Regions from separate parts of the Homo sapiens genome. Here all the other regions are linked to region 3. Evidence: promoter capture Hi-C in human tissues and cell types (Jung and others, 2019). All regions are on one chromosome and are shown on one strand. Each heading gives the region's core, a stretch centred on a gene start or on the middle of the fragment in contact. The rest is flanking DNA. Distances are from core to core; before and after follow the strand shown.

Region 1 (3,993 bases), core at 1,437-3,936, 470 kb before region 3:
GCAGGAAGAGGCTAAGCAGGGAAGCGCTCTGTGTACTCTGGGCAGGGAGCATGTATACCCTGGTGTGCTCAGGGGATAGTCTGAGCTTTTTCCTCTGCACTGGCTGCCCTGGGGTCCCTCACTTAGGTAAAGAGTTGCAGACAGACAATTCTTGGCTCAACTTGTCTGGGCTATTTACTTTATAAGTAAAAAGAAAAAGTTAAGACCCAGAAGGCGAGGGACTTATTTGGGCACACAGCTGGTTAGTGTAGAGCTTGAATCACAGGAATATATGCCAGCTCTAAAGAGACTGATAGCAAGCAGGCCCCAGAAAGGCACAGTGAATACAGAGGAGTTCACACTTGGTGCACAGAGCCACCAGGAAAGAAAGCTGTCCTTTGTTCCTGTGGGACCCTGGCTTGCTTTCAAAGACCACTAGGTGCTCCGGGTCCTGTGGGCTGCTCTCAGGGGATCCTGCAGACTAGGAAGAACAGCCCTTGGCATGGAAGGACAGCTGTTTACCCTACTAGTGCAAAGGACCAGGTTCTTTCTTAGTACTTGGCACTTATGACAGGGGCCAAACAACGGCCCACAGTGCCCCATGCTGGATCCCAGTGTGGCTACAGAACAAGGGCTTAGGGAAAGATAGCCTTCCTGGTTCCTGGTTCTTGCATATGCAGAAGATACAAGGAAACCAAGTTTAAAGCAGAGAGAACAGAGGATCCTGGCAGCAGTTTGAAATGTTCAGTGTTAAAGGCACTAGGAAAACAGAGGAGCATCATCTGTGAATGAAGAGGATTTATGCCCAAGAACTCACAAGTCTACAGTGAAGAACTCAGGGGCTGCTGGCTACATGTCCATCTGCCACCTTTCTCTTGCTCTAACACATGGAACTCCCGGCAACTGCCTGTGGCCTACCAGATATTTTACAGAAGCATGGCAGGTTTAGAGATGGCAATGACCTGCATTTGGTCAGGGGAGTAGAAGGAGCCAGACACCAGGCAGGTAACATTATTAGCTGTCTGTGGCTCCTGCTTCAAGAGAAGCCCATAAGAAAGGCAGTTATGGGCCAGGCGCACTAGCTCAAACCTGTAATCCCAGCACTTTGGGAGGCCGAGGCGGGCGGATCATCTGAGGTCAAGAGTTCGAGACCAGCCTGGCCAACATGGTGAAACCCTGTCTCTACTAAAAATACAAAAAATTATCTGGGCGTGGTGGTGGGCGCCTGTAATCTCAGCTACTCGGGAGGCTGAGGCAGGAGAACTGCTTGACCCTGGGAGGCGGAGGCTGCAGTAAGCCGAGATTGTGCCACTGCACTCCAGGCTGGGTGAGAAGAGCGAAACTCCGTCTCAAAAAAAGAAAAGGCAGTTACGTTCTTGTGGCTTTCAAACTTTACCTGCATGACAAAGGAATGCTTCTAAAACAGCAAAGATGACACTGAAACAATGTCCAGGTGGGCCACAGGGAGTGGGCAGCTGCCAGCCTGTGTGTCTAAGGTGCCAATCTTTCCAGGCTAGGAGCTCTGCATCTGACTGTCCAAGATAGAAAATGTGGCGAAAATGGGGATAGGACCATTAGACCAATCAGCCCTCACTCCTGCAGCTGAGCCATGGAGTCAGTATCACCTACACTACTGTCTGGTACAGGGCGGTGGTGGCCGTGGTGGCTCCCTAAAAGAAAGTCTGGGAGGCAGGAGAATGAATACTGGGCAAGCAAGCAATATCCACTACACTTATCTTTTATTGCTGGCAATCTAATTTTTTAAGCCAATATATAATTTACATACAATAAAAATATCCTTTTAAAATGCCAAAATACATATGTCTGAGGACTAGCTTTCCTGGGCTGAAACCTCTGCTCCCTACGTGCTCTGCAGAATTCAGGGGACAAGTTCCAAGTGATGCCATATTTCTACTCACTCACACATAAAGGTCCTCTGTTTTCCCAGGATGAAAGCCAGTGTTATTTGGAAGAGGCCTAGGCACAGGGTGCTAGAAAGGTTTTCCTCACTCAAGACATACTTGCAGGTGTGGATCGATCTCAAATATGGTCTCTCCCCTCCGCATGTCAGTTATCAGCCAGGGGCCGCCAGCACTGTGGACAAGGAAAGGGGATACAATGGTAACTGAGGGTCTGGGGCTGATGGGCTGGGCCTACAGCCTGCCCTGTTTGCTGCCCCAGGCCTAGGACACAGGGGAATAGTTCGTGGTCAGGGACTGTCAGGGAGTGAGTCGTCAGGAAGCCCTGATGTGAAAAACCAGGGTCTGAAATAACAACGCAAGAGGGAGCCCCACATGGAGGGTAGTGGAGGGACTCCCACCCCCAGGCCCAGGGAGCCGCGCTCCCACCTTGCATGGGTACTCACATAGGCACTGTCCGCAGCAGCTCCAGGATGCCCTGCCCGTTCCACTGCTGGGCTGAGTGTAGCTCTTCAGTGCAGACACCAACGATCTGAGGCCCAGGATAGAAAGCCCATTGTGTGTTAATGGCCACCCCCCACCCCAAGAAGGTCAGCTACCCAGGCTCTCTGAGTCACCTCCAGTTGGGAGACCACAGGCAGGATCTGTGCTCAGGAGCTGGTGCAGCCAAGATTGGATGATTCCCTTAGGAGGGAGTGGCTGCCTGGCTGGGAAATGGCTGGGTCCACATGTGGGCCCTGAGGCCTGACCCTTGCCCTTGCTGTGTCTGGATGACACCAAGTCTAGCTCTTAGCTACAAAGGAGAAAACCAAGGCCTGAGCAACTCAAGATGTGTCCTCAGGCCATGTCTCTGGAAGTAGGGGAGGTTCAGGGAGCCATTCCTACCCAGTCTGGTATCATGGGGAATGTAAACAAGAGACTTTGAGACCTATCAGGCTTGGAACCACCACCAATAGGTCATAGCAGCCTGCAGAGAAACTCCTCCCTTCCTTATTAGGGGATAGGCCTTTGTGTAAATATCAAGGGAATCAGTGGAACCTTCACATAGACTTCGTGACCAAAAACAAGCACTGGTCAAAGCTGGGCAGGTTCCCACAGCTTCTGGCAAAGAGCAAGGACGACCCAGAGCTGGCTTCCCGCTGGAAAGTCCTGTTCCTGAGACTGGGTCTTCACTGTTCAAAGAATACCCGCCACCCCATTACTCCCTCTCAGCTACAGCCATTCTCTCCCAACCAAATGCCCCCTTCCCTTTCTCCCCTCTCCCATCTCAGCAGGTTAAATCAGACCATCTGAATCTACCTGACAAACCATCAGAGGAAACAGAAATCAGGACGAGGCCAAAGGAAACCTCCCACTCCCTTCACTCCCCCTCCTCAAGCCTCCTTGTCCTCCCAGGACCCTTCCCACAGGAAGGCTTGAGCCAGCGTCCAACCTGTGCCTCACCTGGAGGAAGGTAACTACCCCAAAGGGTGTCTGCACGGGCTGCATCTGTGGGTCCTCTGTCAGCAGCATGTGCTGAATTCTTGACTCACTGTTATCCAAAGGGCTGTGCCAGGACACATGGTCCCCACTGCAGAAGGTGTTCTCTGTGGGAGAGATACAAGGATCCTCATTGTTCAAGGCCCCAGATCCAGGCCTGGAATCTGGGCTGGGATCTCACTAGCCCAGGCTGGGAGGCTTCCCAGCCTCTTAGGGTAGCCCCTGTGAAGGAAGAGAAGCATTCACTCCGGATGGAAGCAAAGAGTTTGTGGATATTTCCAAAAACCTAAATTGTTCCTGCTTGCCAGTTCTGTCAGACTTGAAAAGGACAGGCTATTAGTGTGAAAGCTCCTTCGGCCTGGGAAACCAGAAAGACTTCTGGCATCTGCTTCGCTTCCCCAATATCCCGACTCATGGTGGGAGGCAGGAGCCATGACTGGATCTGCCAAGAAAGAATAAGGTGCTTTTCTGTAGGGCCACCTGGCCAGAAGTCCACAGAGAGGCAACAGGGCAATGAAAGCCCTTCACCTTGGAGAAACAGACCGAAATTCCTATGTTGCTGAAATGGCACTCAGAAGGAAACATCGAACCTTGGAGAGCCTTTGAAATCTATCAC
Region 2 (4,563 bases), core at 1,364-3,863, 370 kb before region 3:
GCAACTTTCTCTGAAAATCTCCTTTTTGATTCTCTCATCCTAGGCTTAGGTGGTTTATTTTTCCCAGGAACAGCCTGTGGTCTTGGAGAAGAAAATACCTGGGACCTCACTTTGGGACACACTGAGACCAGTCTAGGAAACAGGGCTGTTGTCTTCTGCATCCTGTCACTGCCTTGTCAGTGATCAAATTTACTGTGTTTATTATTTTTTTCACAAAAAATATTCAGTGGGGAGATCCTGGCTGGGGTACCCTAGGGATGAGTTAATTCACACAGCTTTGTCAGAGCCCTCATGCAGCCTCTTGTAAGCAGATAGCAGAATCGCTGTTGCCATCCTTGGCTTCAAGTGCTGAGGCCCAGAGGTGGGAGCCAGGAGATTGTGTCCTGGAACCAGGCAATGAGGAAGATGCCTCCTGCCACTTGCCCTAGAGGCACCTGAGGGGCCATGGAAATGCAGAAGCCCCTGCTTTGCCGGCTCCTCGGGAATGAGGGCAGTTTGCAGCAAACAGTATTTAGCCTTGGAGAATGAGTGCCCACCCTTAGCCCTGGGCAAGGACAGCAGGGTGGAAGCTCAGGAAGCTGAGGCTTCTTTGCAAGGGATTCAGCTTGCACTGCTTAGTCTTGGGAGAACAGGGTCCTGGGTGGAGCCTGACTGCAGTCGTAAGTCCTGTTCTCTTTTCCCAGGAGCACCGAGGGCTGCTTTCAATCCGCTATCCCATGGAGCATGGCATCGTCAAGGATTGGAACGACATGGAACGCATTTGGCAATATGTCTATTCTAAGGACCAGCTGCAGACTTTCTCAGAGGAGGTGAGGATCCTGTGTGTAGGGCACTCCTGTAGGGTATGCAAAGCTGTGTCAAACTCCTACCCTAGAGATGATGAGGAGGACGATGATCACTGCCAAGAGTGCTGGAGCCATTTGATTTTCAGGCATATTCAGATTTAATCTTAACACCATTCCTATGAGATATAGGTAGTATTATCTCATTTTACAAACAAGGGAACAAGTTCAGAAAAGCCAAGTCGTGGCCGGGCGCGGTGGCTCACACCTGTAATCCCAGCACTTTGGGAGGCCGAGGCGGGTGGATCACGAGGTCAGGAGATCGAGACCATCCTGGCTAACACGGTGAAACCCTGTCTCCACTAAAAATACAAAAAATTCTCCGGGCGTGGTGGCGGGCGCCTGTAGTCCCAGCTACTCCGGAGGCTGAGGCAGGAGAATGGCGTGAACCCGGGAGGCGGAGCTTGCAGTGAGCCGAGATTGCGCCACTGTGCTCCAGCCTGGGTGACAGAGTGAGACTCCGTCCCAAAAAAAAAAAAAAAAAAGAAAAGCCAAGTGGTATTTCCAAGGTCACCAAGTGAACAAAGGGTAGAGATGGAATTCAAACCTATGTCTTTTAGAATTCAAAGCCTGTGCTCATTAACTTCTTTCACCCAGACTGGAGTGCAATAGCTCACTGCAGCCTCGACCTCCTGGGCTCAAGTAATCCTCCCATCTCAGCCCCACCCCCCACCATGCCCGGCTAATTTTGTGTGTGTGTGTGTGGTGGGGTTTTGCTCTTGTTGGCCAGGCTGGAGTGCAATGGCGTGATCTAGGCTCACTGCAACCTCTGCCTCCCGGATTCAAATGATTCTCCTGCCTCAGCTTCCCAAGTAGCTGGGATTACAGCATGAGCCATGGCACCTGGCAAATTTTGTATTTTTTGTAGAGACAAGGTTTTGCCATGTTGCCCAGGCTGGTCTCGAACTCCTGGGTTCAGGCAATCTATCCGCCTCCACCTCTCAAAGTGCTGGGATTACAGGCGTGAGCCACCTTGTGCAGCCTGTGCTTATTAACTTGTAAGGAAGTAACTCTCCATTCAAAAATGTAAAGGGAGGCTGGTCACTGTGGGTCATGCCTGTAATCCCAGCACTTTGGGTGGATCTCTTGAGCTCAGGAGTTTGAGACCAAGTTGGGCAGCATGGCGAAACACCACCTCTACTAAAAATATGAAAAAAAAAAAAATAGCCGGGTACAGTGGTGCGTGCCTGTAGTCCCAGCTACTTGAAATGATGAGGTGGGAGGACTGCTTGAGCCTGGGGGCATCGAGGTTGCAGTAAGCCAAGATCGCACCACTGAACTCGCAGCCTGGTGACAGAGTGAGACCTTGTCTCAAAAAAAAAAAAAGAAAGAAAGAAAATGCAGAGAGGTGCAGACTAGGTGTATCAATTTCCAGGTGCAGGTGGGATGTTTTCAGTTTTGGGTTTTTTTTGTTTGCTTTTTTGAGATGGAGTTTCGCTCTTGTGGCCTAGGCTAGAGTGCAATGGCGCAATCTCGGCTCACCGCAACCTCTGCCTCCCAGGTTCAAGCGATTCTCCTGCCTGAGCCTTCCTGAGTAGCTGGGATTACAGGCATGCACCACCACCAAGCCCGGCTAATTTTGTATTTTTAGTAGAGACGGGGTTTCTCCATGTTGGTCAGGCTGGTCTCGAACTCCCGACCTCAGATGATCCGCACGCCTCAGCCTCCCAAGGTGCTGGGATTACAGGTGTGAGCCACCACGCCCGGCTGTTTTCAGACAGTTTTTTTAAAGCAGTGGTCCCCAACCTTTCTGGCACCAGGGACTAGTTTCTTGGAAGACAGTTTTTCCATGGGGGTGGGGGTTTGGGGTGGCCAGATAGTTTCAGGATGAAGCTGTTCCACCTCTGATCATCAGGCATTCAATTCTCATAAGGAGTGCCCAACCTAGATCCCTCACATGCGCAGTTCACAGTAGGGTTCACACTCCTATGAGAATCTAGTGCCTTGGATGATCTGATGGGAGGTGGAGCTCAGACAATAATGCTCGCTTACCTGCCATTCACCTCCTGCTGTGCAGCCTGGTTCCTAACAGGTCACAGACTAGAACTGGTCTGCGGCAGGAATTTAGAGTTTCACAAAATCTTCTTGACAGTTGGAGATACACAGTAGACACAGGGGCCTGTATAACAATCTTGGAGGACAAGGAGGGGAGTTGGGGGGCACAGCTGAGGACAGAATGAAATTTTAAAGTGGGCATTAACTTGAAAAGTTGAGAAAACTACTTGGGCAGGGATAGTTGACAGGCACAGCTTGCCTTTTTTTGGAGTGAGGCTGACTGAAGTCCCCGGGCTCTCAAACCAGCAAGGCAGGGTCTTCTCCCCTAAGACTAATGAAGATGGAAATCTGGCCTTGGCCTCATTGTCTCCCGGGCTCCTTTCACCAGCATCCTGTGCTCCTGACTGAGGCGCCTTTAAACCCACGAAAAAACCGGGAACGAGCTGCCGAAGTTTTCTTCGAGACCTTCAATGTGCCCGCTCTTTTCATCTCCATGCAAGCTGTACTCAGCCTGTGAGTAGCAGCTGGCTAGCCCGGCCCCTGCGGGGAAAGCAGTCCTTTGGCACAGCTGAGGCTGGCTCTCCTCTGGAATGGTTCAGAGTAACTTGAGCCCCCTCTGCTAGGGAAAGGTTAAAGATGGTGGGAAAGAGAGAGAGGCTTTTGCTGAAACTGAGCACTGAGGCTTCGTAGTTGAAAGCAAAGAAGGACATGTGGCTGCTATTGACCATATCCCAGTGTCAGGACTCCTAGTGGGTTTGGTCCCCAAGGCCTTGGCTGGGCCTGCCGAGGCAGCCACATGCTGCAGCAGCTCTTCCCGGAGGCCCCCGTAATGTGTCCACTTATTATTCAGCACTTACTGTGGCCAGCTGCTCTGCCAGGCTGTGAGACAACCATGATCCGAATGCCACCACAGTCCTTGTTCCCATCCCCCGTGGCTCCTGTCACACTCCTACCCCACCTCACACCAGAGTGAGGTCTACGGCAGAGATTATCCACAAGTGACCTACACGTGGGATTTATTTGACCCCATTAACAAACTGTGAGCCAGCATTTAAAAATCAAGAGGTGTCCCATCAAAACCCAAATTTTTGGCTTCTCTGAAAAAATGGGAAGATCTGGGAAGGTCGGGCACACATTCCCACAGGGCAAAAATCAGCTGGAGCTGAAGAGCGGCTGCCACTTGAGATGGGGCTGGCAAGCCCACCCTCCCCACAGCCTGTCCATGCTCTGTTGGCCTCTCCGCACTGAAGCAGGGGGTCAGTTGCCTCACTTGCCTTTTTTTGGAGGGAGGCTGACAAAGGTCCCCGGGCTCTCAAACCAGTAAAGCAGGGTCTTCTCCTGCCTTTGTTTTTTATGGAAGTGAAAAATATTCTTATTTTTCTTTACTCTTACTTTTCCTGCCTGGCCCCTGTTGACATTTGAGGGTTTTTGCCTTTTGTCTAGAGAGTTAAAACTGGCCCCTAGGCTGGGTCTCTGAAGCAGCTGAAGGCCAGGCCATCTCAGACAGGAAGGCCTGCTCTTCTGGGTACGGGGAGGGAACTTGGAGAAGATCAGCAACTTCCGTTCAGGTATTTCATGGCTTGCTCCAACACCTGGGCTTCCTTAGTACCCAGTCCATTCTACAGACCCTGGAGAGAGGCAGGCCCAAGCTTTAGTTTAGCTGACATTGAACCCTAAATAAAGAAGTGTATTTCTTCCCAGCGTGAGGAGGCAGTGCTGAGTGACG
Region 3 (4,403 bases), core at 1,207-3,706:
CAAGTAAGGCAGTTTTTTCTTCCTTCCTAAGCTTCTACCTTCCACATGTGTAATCTAGGAGAGGGAAATCTCAGATTCACAGGAGGCAAAGACCTTTATAGGGTGGGTTGTAGTCCCCCTGTCCACCCAGATGATCACCATTGTGTTGGTCAGCATGGAATCTGACCAAGCTAGTTGTTTGGAATGAGTGGCCTTAGGCGTAAGTGGTCACAGGATTGGAGGAAGGCAAATTCATGGACAGAAAAGAGAGAAGGAGGTCAAGGTAGGTATTCCCCCTCCTCCAAACCATCTCAAATTGTCCTGCCAATCCAGCCCCCTCCTCTCTTGGAATTGGATAATCTTAAAAAAAAAAAAAAAAAAAGGGCAGAAAGAACACGTATTTACAGGACTGCCTGGCTGACACTGGGCTACGTGACTGGGTGTACATTGTCTAGTTTGATACTCACCAAGCCATAGGTTACAGAGGATAAAGCTAGTGTCCCAGGTGGGGTGGTCAGTTGTCTCAAATCACTCAGGTATTGAGGAGCGAATCTTGCGTTCAAACCTAGGTATCCACAATTTCGGGCCAGTGTTCTGTTGCCTTATGTTCTCTCTACTCCCTCTAGTGCTGACCTTTGTCTGGGAGAATGCAGGGAGGGGGTGCACTCAGGCAGGGGATGCTGCCAAGGAAATACTTGTGTGAGTGTGGATGGCTTCAGTCAGGTCCTCTCTGCTCCTGGTGGGGGTGGAGATGGGGAAACCTGGGGGTGGGAGACTCCACAGTGTACAAGCTCCCCTATCCCCCATCCTAAGCACATGGTGGGGAGGGTCTCCATTCCTAGGCAGGCCTTCTTTTCAATCCCTGGACTCTGCACCGTTCCATCATTTCATGCTCCCTCAGCAAAAACCTAAGGTGGAGAGAAGAGGTCTCATAAACACTTTAAGCCTCCGCATTTGTAACCCTCCCCCAGCCAGTCAAGCCAGCTGTGCAGACTCTGAGCCAGAGTGAGGGAACCAAACAGCCTTCTCAACCAACACCCCTCTAAGTAACAAAGAGGAGAACCCCCTACCCAGTCAGGGCCAGACGCCCTAGGGAGGAGACACTAGTCCAAGTCTCCATCGTCTATCCCTGGAGCCCATACTGAAACTTAAGAAAGAAAAGCTAGCAGCTGGGGACCCCAGGAGGGAGGGGGTCAACTCTCTACTCCAGGCGGCTCCCCTCCCTTCCCTCCTCCTGGCTAATAGGTATTTCCTGTTTATGAGGCAGCTAAAGCTGAGCTTTTGGGAAGGGATGGAGATGGAGCCCCTCCCCTCCTAGGGCTGGGTTGGGGAGTCCTTGAAGTGTGACTGAAGGTTGGGAGGCTCCTCCCAGGGGAAGGAGTGTTCCTTACATTGACCATCCACATCATCTCCCATCCAACCCCCCACGGCCCACAGCCTCTGCCTCTCTGGGTTAGGGGGCACTGGAGGGGCCTGTTTCCTGTTCTCATCTCCGAAGCCCTCAAAGGACAGCAGCTTCCAGGCAGGGGGGTCGGAGGCGGTGGGGTTGGGCGGTTGGTACGGAGGTGAAGGCACCAAGGCTGGAGAAAGGGGGGAAGGGAAGAGAGTGTCTTGACTGATGCGTCAGTCTGCAAGAAGGAAGGATGGCCTCCTATCGCCCCTCCGTAATCCAATCTGGTGGTCATTCCGCAGCCCCCTCCCCCCAGCAAAACACAGATCCCAAGCCCTTAGGCGGAGGAGGGCGGGGACCCCACTTAATTAACCCTTTTAGTTCTAGTCCCAACTGGTTTCGCAGGCAAAGGAGGAGTGGTTAATTTAGGGAAGGGGTGAGTTGAGGGGTTGCTACAAGAATTAAGAGAATGCTTCTTTACCCATCCAGCCTAGGGTAGGGACGCGAAACAAGGGGCCTCCAGAAGAAGGCTGGCGTCTCAGCAGGGAGCACGGACAGGGGGTCTGCAGTCCCTTTTCCCTCCCGGAGCGCGGCCCGGGGTGGAGAGAGATACACCACACTGCCCACCCCGGCTCCGCCTCCCCCAGCCGCGGCTCCCGCTCCGGCTCAGCCAGACTCCCCATCCGGCGGCACCCGGAGGACGGACACCGAGCGCGCGGCTGCGCCTCCAAGCCCTCCCCTTCGCCCTCCCTCTCTGGGGTCTCTGCCTCCGTCTCCTTTTTTAAAAGCTGCGTCACATGCATGCCGTTCCCCGAGCGCTCCCAGCCCCTCGCCGCCCGCCCGCCGCGCGGCGCACGCACGTCGTCGCTTGCTGCGCGCTCTCCCGGGTCACTTTGACACGGCTCTCCCCTCCCACTAGCAGGACAATTAGCATATTAATAAAGCCCGGCCCTGCCCGGCTTGGGCTGGGGAGCCGGCGCCGGCGCGAGGGAGCGCGAGCGCGAGGGCGGAGAGGGGGGCGCTCGGCGACGGCGGCGGGAGCGCACAGACACGCACACGCACACGCGCACACACGCACACACGGACACACACTCCGCGGACTCACACCCGCGCGCACACACGCAGAGGCCGCTCGCCTTCCTGCCTGGCTTCCTTCCTGTCTGCTCCGCGCCTGACAGGCCCCTCGCCGCAGCCAGGGGCCGCCCGCACCGGGCCGAGGCCGGGCCGGGCCGGCGGCGAGCGCAGCGGGGGCCGCGGGCGGCGGCGGCGGCTCATGCCCGGCCTGTCCCCGCGAGGGGCGGGCACCGTGACTCGGCTGGGCCCCCAGAGGCGGGCGATGTGAAGATGTCAGTGGGCTGTGCCTGTCCTGGTGAGTGGGGCGTGCGGCCACTCGGCCCCTTCCTGCCCAGCCGTCCCTGCGGACCCCTCACCCCGTGTTTGGCGAGAACTTGTGTGGGGGGCGTCGATGGCATGGGGGAAGCCGGGGGCTGGAAGGGCTACGCGGGGCCTCAGGCTGGCGGGTAGCGTTTTCCCCAACTGTGTAAATGCGCAGCAGCCCAGAAACACGGGGAGGAGACGCTGGGGGTGGCTTATGTGTATGTTTTTTTGGGGGTAGGCTAATTGGGGAGAGGTTTGGGGGGGGCTGAAATTCTCAGAATTCCAGGTTGTTAGCCAATCAGAAGTGACTCTGGACTTTTGACCCCCCCCCTCAGGTCACCATAGAGTTGTGATTGGCTGGTTTGGGCTGCCCCCCCTTCCCTGCTGCCCATTGCCTCTTACCTATCCTGTGACATCCCCCCCATGCTGTTTCTGAGGACCCTGTTTGCAGGGAGGTATTGATTGCGGCCCATCTTGCCCCCCACCTTCAACTTTTCCTGCCTGTTGCCAGGGAAGGTTGGCCCTCCTGAGGCACCGGAGGTACTCCTAAGAGGTGCCAGATAATTGGACCCTTGGGTCTGGCATCTCCGCCCTAGTGGGAGGGCAGGCTAGGAAATAGAGTGATTTGTGGAGAGGTAAGCTGGGGGAGCAATACTTGACCCAAAACTGAGAACTTGAGAGAGGACCCAGGCTCAGATCCCTGCCTCCCCAAAACATATCAGCTCTTGCCAGGGATAGCCTAGGTCTGAGTTTTTTTCCTGGGGGGCAGGTGGGGGGGGCGGAGGGCGTCTACCTCACTGCCAGGAGGAAAGAGAGAAGCCATGCGACTGGAGAGGTAGTCTACAGAGGGCCTCACGGCACACTGTCTGTCTCCATCCCCGGGACTCTGGGTCCTGGAATTGGCCCTCCTGCCCCAGACTGGAGTCAGCTTTCTCCTGGAAGTCAGTGTCCCTGAATGTAGCCCGCTTTGGCTACATACTTCACAGCTGGACACCCACCACTCCCCCACAAATCCCCAAGGGAAGCTGCCAGTGCGGAAGCTTCCTTGAAAATCATGTGACCCAGGCCAAGCTGGGCTGGGCACACACTTCAGGTGCCTGCTGAGGCTGATGTCTAAGGGGCATGGGTCCCAGAAGGAGGAATAAGAGAACCTAACAATCCTAGAATATCCGAGTATGGGAACCACTGGCTCCTGCTGCAGAGGGTTGGGGAGAGGAGAGGGAAGAGCTTGCCAAGCTGGAATCCTGTCTGGCCCCGTCGTCCCTCTTTCTACCAGCTTGGTGTACATGTTTATGTTGTGGATTTTCTCCTTTATAATTGACCCATGCTGGGTACCCCTTTCAGATCCATCATGTTCTTAGCCCACCCCAGGGCCCTGACCCTCCATCAACACACATGAGCAGAGCAGTTAAACTAAGGATCTGAACAAGCTAGAGGGATGAGTCTTAAATTGTGATTCTTAGTTCCTACAAATAGTGGGTAAGCGGGTATGTATGTATGGAGGGGTTGTCAGGCTGGAGGTGGATGGGAGGTTGGCCCTGAAGTTGGGGCAGGGTGCCTGGGTCCAGTGGGAGGAGAGAGAAAATCTCTTCTTCTTAGTCTCTGGGAGCAGCATGGGAACAGGAAGAGGGCCCAAGCCCAGGGGTTTGTGGGTGGG

Evidence for each region. The method cuts DNA at HindIII sites, captures the fragments that hold promoters and counts their contacts. A contact is called where the count stands out against the background at its distance.
Region 1: a fragment that was not itself captured here is called in contact with the fragment with the promoter of LDB1 in region 3 in 1 of the 25 tissues and cell types used here (adrenal gland).
Region 2: a fragment that was not itself captured here is called in contact with the fragment with the promoter of LDB1 in region 3 in 2 of the 25 tissues and cell types used here (heart left ventricle and lymphoblastoid cells).

Annotation. Positions count from the first base shown.
Region 1 is chr10:102,592,073-102,596,065 of GRCh38, reverse strand. It overlaps SUFU (SUFU negative regulator of hedgehog signaling), which reads right to left. Exons shown (of 12, transcript NM_016169.4): 4 at 3,342-3,484; 5 at 2,345-2,430; 6 at 2,001-2,073. Among named protein-coding and RNA genes, the nearest start is that of TRIM8-DT, 49 kb to the left of the region's middle. The HindIII fragment of the contact is 8,336 bases long and covers 1-3,993 here.
Region 2 is chr10:102,484,396-102,488,958 of GRCh38, reverse strand. ACTR1A (actin related protein 1A) reads left to right here. Exons shown (of 11, transcript NM_005736.4): 4 at 684-809; 5 at 3,226-3,350. Among named protein-coding and RNA genes, the nearest start is that of ACTR1A, 16 kb to the left of the region's middle. The HindIII fragment of the contact is 9,793 bases long and covers 1-4,563 here.
Region 3 is chr10:102,118,421-102,122,823 of GRCh38, reverse strand. It overlaps LDB1 (LIM domain binding 1), which reads left to right and starts at 2,456. Exons shown (of 11, transcript NM_001113407.3): 1 at 2,456-2,738. The coding sequence starts at 2,714. It also overlaps a transcript of PPRC1 not described here. RefSeq lists enhancers at 317-1,066, 1,067-1,818, 1,819-2,570, 4,276-4,403 and silencers at 2,067-2,196, 2,217-2,516, 2,577-2,656, 2,747-2,816. The HindIII fragment of the contact is 10,982 bases long and covers 1-4,403 here.